Regions from separate parts of the Homo sapiens genome. Here region 2 is linked to region 1. The links are contacts of gene promoters, found by promoter capture Hi-C in blood cells and fetal thymus (Javierre and others, 2016). All regions are on one chromosome and are shown on one strand. Each heading gives the region's core, a stretch centred on a gene start or on the middle of the fragment in contact. The rest is flanking DNA. Distances are from core to core; before and after follow the strand shown. Region 1 holds the start of KCNAB1-AS2 (KCNAB1 antisense RNA 2). Region 2 overlaps KCNAB1 (potassium voltage-gated channel subfamily A regulatory beta subunit 1).

The links. Contacts are between HindIII fragments. The CHiCAGO score rates a contact against its expected background, and 5 or more counts as called.
Region 2: a contact is called between a fragment that was not itself captured here and the fragment with the promoter of KCNAB1-AS2 in region 1, in 1 of 17 cell types (endothelial precursors). The highest score is 5.5, in endothelial precursors.

Annotation. Positions count from the first base shown.
Region 1 is chr3:156,226,090-156,229,455 of GRCh38, reverse strand. It overlaps KCNAB1-AS2 (KCNAB1 antisense RNA 2), which reads left to right and starts at 1,573. Exons shown (of 4, transcript NR_046617.1): 1 at 1,573-1,767. The region is part of intron 1 of KCNAB1 (potassium voltage-gated channel subfamily A regulatory beta subunit 1); the gene reads right to left. The HindIII fragment of the contact is 1,557 bases long and covers 1,167-2,723 here.
Region 2 is chr3:156,509,796-156,513,156 of GRCh38, reverse strand. The region is part of intron 8 of KCNAB1 (potassium voltage-gated channel subfamily A regulatory beta subunit 1); the gene reads right to left. Among named protein-coding and RNA genes, the nearest start is that of SSR3, 44 kb to the left of the region's middle. The HindIII fragment of the contact is 2,122 bases long and covers 901-3,022 here.

The DNA of each region.
Region 1 (3,366 bases), core at 324-2,823:
AATTGTAATAATCCCCAAGGTTGGAGGAGGGGCCTGGTGGGAGGATATTGGATCAAGGGGACAGATTCTCCTTTGCTGGTCTCTTGACTATAAGTGAATTCTCACAGATCTGTGAGGTGTGTAGCACCTCTCCCCACTCTCTTCCTCCTGCTCTGGCCATGTAAGCTGTGCCTTCCACCATAATTATAAGTTTCCCAAGGCCTCCCCAGCCATGCTTCCTGTACAGCCTGCAGAACCACGAGCCAATTAAACCTCTTTTCTTTACAAATTACTCAGTCTCAGGTATTTCTTTATAGTAGTGTGAGAATGAACTAATACACCATAGAAAGAAAAATAGTCTTGTTCTTTTTAAAACAGAGTTTCAAACCTCTCCCTCAAAAAGACTGTGTTCAGGGCTGAGACCCCTCAGAGGCTCCCCTTTACACACAAGGAAGAGGGGAATGATGCCTCTGGGGTATGTCTAGTGCCCTCTCCCCAAACTCCACACTAGAACAACACCTTCTCTCTGTGTAAACCCTAGTCTCCGCTGGGGTTCAGGTATGCCATGGAACTCAGAGGCGGGCTTGCCCAGAATCTTGACAGTGGGAAATAACCAGCCTACAAAGGGCCATGTGGCCATAGACAGAAAACTGTCTGTGGAAGGAGAAATAGGGTGGTCAGAAGAGGAGAGCAATCCTGAGAATCACATAGTGGCTGTCACTGAGGTTTTTCTCTGATCTATCCCCCATTGACTCCAACCTAGGTCAAGGGTAAGAAAAGCCTGGAACTCAACCTGAACAAGCTATTTCACTTAAGACTCTGTAAACCTTTGGAGCCTTTCAGTGGAAGGCAACATGAGAAGGAGAGGTGCCCTCCCCACTTCCCACCTCCAAGCTCTAGCACACCTGCAGCGGTCTCTAGTGGAACATGATAGAACCCCGAAGAGGCAGGCTAGTGAGAAGGAAGAAACAGCAGACGCTGTGTGAAGGCTGACCAGGCTTGCTTTCGACCACACATGAGATGCATTTCAGGGACTTCCAGAAATGCTTGAGGAAACAACACAGGGGCTGGGATCTGTAACAGTCAAATGGAGGCAAAACCATCAACTGCTGCTCCTATGTTCAAAGCACACGGTAGGGCTGCAGACAAGAAGTGTATGGCTTTTTGTGAATCACAAAATCTAAGCTTTCATCCCACCTCCTAACCAGCACTTGCTTCTTTTCTCCTCTCCCCTTCATCTGAAGACTGTGCACTATCTGAGGGCAAGGACAGCATCTGACTTCCCACCGACACAGTTACTGCCAAGGGGAGGTGCTCAATAAAGATGTGTGGAATGGAATGAATGAACAGAGGAATGGAATTGAACCAATTTGGTACAATAAATTATTGTGCAAAATTTTAAGGTGGAAGACGTTTCTGATGTTTACTTTCAATGTATGCAACAAGAAGGTAAGTTTAAAACTGGATCCTACCACTTACCTGCTCTCTCTTCCCGTGCCTCTAGGATTCCACTGCTAAATGTGCAGATAATTCCCATATTCATTGCTGACTCAGTGTCTCTTTCTGACCTTGTATTGATGACATGGCAGAAAGGGCTGGAGGAGGAAAATCCATGTCTAAGCAGAACAGCTGTGTACGAGGAGGTCCCTCCTTAAGCACAGTTTGCCTAAACAGCTCTGAACCGGGATGGTGCCCTAAAAGGGCGTTTCCGGAGTTTAGGGTGAGAACTTACCACTGTGCCTGCTAGTGGGGGCCTTGAGCCTGTTACATGAAGAGGAGAATCATTTGGTGAGTGACTGGGGTTTAGGTTTAAGCATCCCTGTTTACTAACTGCATGACCAGGAACAAATTTCCTAACTTCTCTGGGTCTCATTTGCCTTCTTTCTTGAAATATAATAATGTCGACTTACCTACATCACCTATTGTTGAATCAAACAAGAGAATCGTATACTAATTTGCATATAAAAATAGTACACACACACTAGATTCAGACTATCATGAGAAAAGACAATTCTCACTGAAATCGGAGAGAAAGTCTTTTTTAGCTGCTTGGAATCGTCCCACTTTATTGCAACATTGATTGTGATTTCAAACACTTTTTTTTCTAAGTCAAACTTTCAGGGCCTATTAAATACCTTTGAGAACAATGTCCTTTGTCTTTGCTTTTTAAATTAGTTTCATTCTTGCAAATGGCCAGTCGTTTCAGTACTATCAAAAGGAGTTCACGTTGTAAAAGTATAAAAAAGAACTTTTTCCTTGCATTAGTTACTGATCAGTGGAGTAATGGCCTACATTTGTTCACACAAAGACCTAATGGATAACTTTTTAAAAACAACATTGTGACGAAGAAGTAGTTAGATTTAGAAACCATTAAATATTATAGAATAGAATAACCCAAAAGCACTTAATCATCATGTAGCTTTGTAAAAAATCTATAGTTGGAATTCATTCTTCATATGCTTTTATTTCTATGGAATCCTTACAAGCTCCAGGCTGTGTGTTTTTTACTTTTAGTAAATGTTTATCCCTTATGTCTGTGTCATAGTCCACCATGGTTTGATTTGCCCCAAAGTCAAAATACTCTCTTGATCATTGTACACAGAATTAATCAAGACTGACAGGACTATTAATGGTGCTTATCGCTTACATAAGAGAGAGGAGGAGTGCTGGGCTTGGCTGTGGGGTGTTTCCTGAAACTGGAATAAAAGGATCCCCGCCAAAACATGGAAAGTTGTTCACAAGCTTTGCAGATGAGCTTTTCTTTTTTCTTTTTCTTGATTTCAATAGGTTTTTGGGGAACAGGTGGTACTTGGTTACATGAATAAGTTCTTTAGCGGTGATTTCTGAGATTTTTGTCTGTTAACCCTGCTGATTATTTCTTTTGCTGTGCAGGAGCTTTTTAGTTTAATTAAGTCCCATCTATTTCTCTTTGTTTTTGGTGCATTTGCTTTTGGGTTCTTGGTCATGACGTCTTGTCTAAGCCAATGTCTAGAAGGGTTTTTTGATGTTATCTTCTAGAATTTTTATGGTTTCAGATCTTAAATTTAAGTCTTTGATCCATCTTGAGTTGATTTTTGTATGAGGTGAGAGATAGATATCTAGTTTCATTCTTCTACATGTAGCTAGCCAATTATCCCAGCACCGTTTGTTGAGTAGGGTATCCTTTCTCCACTTTATGTTTTTATTTGCTTTGTCAAGATCAGTTGACTGTATCTGGCTTAATTTCTGGGTTCTCTATTCTGTTCCACTGGTCTATGTGCCAATTTTTATACCAGTATAATGCTGTTTTGGTGACTGTGGCCTTACAGTATAGTTTGAAGTCAGGTAATGTGATGCCTCTAGTTTTGTTCCTTTTGCTTAGTCTTGCTTTGGCTCTGTGGGCTCTTT
Region 2 (3,361 bases), core at 712-3,211, 280 kb before region 1:
CCCTGCAGGCTCCGCCTCCCGGGTTCATGCCATTCTCCTGCCTCAGCCTCCCGAGTAGCTGGGACTACAGGTGCCCGCCACCACACCCGGCTAACTTTTTGTATTTTTGGTAGAGACAGGGTTTCACCGTGTTAGCCAGGATGGTCTCGATCTCCTGACCTCGTGATCCTCCCACCTCGGCCTCCCAAAGTACTGGGATTACAGGCGTGAGCCACTGCTCCCGTCCTTCTGTAAACTATTTTTAATTGCCCTTGATTTCTTTTTTGGAAGATGGAAATGCTTTCATTCACCATTGTGTGTCCAACAGAGGTAAAAGCTGGCTTATAAGCAAAATAGTTTTCTTTTTCTTGGAGAAAGACTCTAGAATATCAAATTATTGCCTAGCAACTAAAACTATGAAGTTCATTCTCCATTTATAAAACATATGATTAAAAAAGTGTAAGGAACCGCTTTTCTTCTCTTTCATTATACAAATGGAGATGCGTGCCTATGATAAACAGTTCCAGAAGTTGAAAACAATGATATGAATCTCTGCCCCAGATAGATTCTGTCTTTAGATGTCTCCATCACTGCACCAGCTCCCTTTCCCTTCACATCCTGTGTCATTCAGAGCTGGGAGTTCAGCCAATCAACAGTATCTACTAGGTGTCTGCTGTTCTGGGTGCTGGAGATACTGTGGTGAATCAAACATGCTGATAAACACAGAAGAGGTTAACAGAGAATAAACTGGACCTGGCCTCTCCCTTAACTCTGTCTCTGCCATCAAGTAAGACAGGCACAGAATGCTGACAGGTGGCTTGGGCACGTGGGAGTCCTTGACAAAAGCAGTGAAGATGGAGTGGAAGTTGTGACTCTTCCTGCACATGCATTTAATTATACAACACACAAGTATTAAAAGCTTAATGTTTGCCAGTCACTGTGCTGGTTGCTGGATTCTTCTGTGAGTAAAACAGACACAAATTTCCTGGACTCAGGGAGTTTCAAGTTGAGTGAGAGATGGAGGGGTAAACAAGTAAGTCATTATAAAATGTAAAGTGTTATAAAGAAAATAACACAGGGGACTGGGACAGGAAATGAAAGAGAAGACATATTTAGTGCAGTAAGGAAGGTCTCACTGAAGAGCAATCATGTTTAGGCATAAAAAAGAAAAAAGGAACCATCCTTGTGAAGAACAGTGGAAGAGCATTCGAGGCAGATGATGTAGTATGCGCCTAGGCCCTGAGGAAGGACAGAGCTTAGTGAGTCCCAGCAATGGGAGGGAAGGAGGACAGGGGTATGAGATGAAGTTGGCAGAGGGCAAACCATGTCATTTGTATGTTATTCAAGGTTTAATCAAGGCATTAACATTTTATCAGGTAAGGGGATGGTAGAATATAGTTTGCATTTCAGAACAGTCTCTGTGCTGTGGAGAATCATTAGTAACAGGGAGGACTGGAGGAAGTAGAAAGAGCTTGAGGAAGGTATTGTTGTATTCTAGGCAGGAGATGAGGGTGATTTGTAATAGGGTGATGATGGCAAACAGAGAGAGTGGTGGATGGATTCAAAATAGATGTTGAAGGCAGAATCCACAATACTTACAGATGGACTGAGTGTGGTCAGGGAAAGGGAGGAATTAAAGCTGTTTCCCAGATATCTGGCTGTTTACAGAGATAAGGGAGACTGAAGGAAGAACAGGTTTGGGAGAAAAATCGAGGGTTCTTCTTTGGACATGTGAAAAATGGAGATGCATGTGAGATACTAAAAGGGAGATGACGGGCGGGGCACGGTGGCTCACACCTGTAATCCCAGCACTTTGGGAGGCCGAGGCGGGTGGATCACGAGGTCAGGAGATCGAGACCATCCTGGCTAACACGGTGAAACCCCGTCTCTACTAAAAATACAGAAAATTAGCCGGGCGTGGTGGCGGGTGCCTGTAGTCCCAGCTACTCGGGAGGCTGAGGCAAGAGAATGGCATGAACCTGGGAGGTGGAGCTCGCAGTAAGCCGAGATCACGCCACTGCACTCCAGCATGGGGGACAGAGCAAGACTCCGTCTCAAAAAAAATAAAAAATAAAAAATAAAGGGGAGATGTCAAGTGGATATTTAATAGTTGGATAAATACGACAGTGAGCAATCTGGGCCAGAGGTGTATATACATTTATTAGTTACCAGTCTATTGATTATATTTAAATTCATGAAAATGGATGAGCCTTGTAAGGAAAGTCTATAGACAGAAAAGAGAAGAGTTTCTGATGGCCAGCCCAGGGGTTAGAGAGAGGACCCATGCAGGATGCTGGGTAGCCGGCAGCCAAAGGGGCAGGAGGGAAGCCGGCACACAGGGATGTGTCAGACCAAGAGCAGAGGGCACTTCAAGAGGGAGCCATGCCCACAGGGTGGAACGCCATGGACATTTGTGTCAGAACAGCCCCAAACAGTGTCCACTGGATTTGGCCATATGTAGGGAGACCACTGCAGACCATGAGAAAAGCAGCTTCAGTGTCAGTGATGTGATGGGATCAAGCAAGGTTGGAGCCATTGGAAGCCACTCAATGGAAGAATGAGTGGAAGAAGGAGAGGCCTTAAACACAATGCATTCAATAAGTTTGGAAGAGAAATAGGACAGGAGCTGAAGGGATATTCAGGGTCACGGGACATTAAGAGTAAGCCTGTGTGCCATTTGGAGTGACCTAGGAAGAGGGAGTTATTGATGAAATGGCCTCGGGGCTGGGAAGGAAGAGGGAGAGAGACTTGATAAAGGGAGAGGGAGGAGGGACAGAGCCCCTAGAGGTAAGAAGGACACTTTTGTCAAGATGATGGGACCCAGGGAGGTTTGTAGAACCATCATGGGAAGACATGGCAGCACCTGTTTGATGAATTCTAGTCTCAATAAACTGTGAACCAAGTGTAAAAGGAGGCATGAGATGTGTAGCAGAAATGAGAAAAAGGTGAGGAGAGCCTCTGCGAGGCACTCCAATGCCTCAGGTCTTTTTGTTGCTGGTAGTTTTTTCCTCATTGTTTAGTTTTGACTCTGAAGAGAAAAGCTTGGTGGAATTGGGAAAAGGGAACTCTGTGAGTTCTTGTCCTGGAAGGAGGCTGCAACATCAAAAGCAGGGAGAAATTGCAGGAGAACCAAGAGGCTGCAGTTTTGGAGATTCATGTTGCCATGAATTAAAATTTAATTCTATTTCAGAGAAAAATTCGTTTAGCTTACTAATAGGAAACAACCATACTGATGGCCAAGGTGGGTTTTTACATGATTTGAATAATTAAGAACACTAGAGGGCAGCATTGCTGAAAGGAAAAATCAACTGTCTTCTAGATACTGTTAAGTGCATAACATGGAGATGCCTTTTAAAAGCCTCCTAGGCAGAATAACAATTCT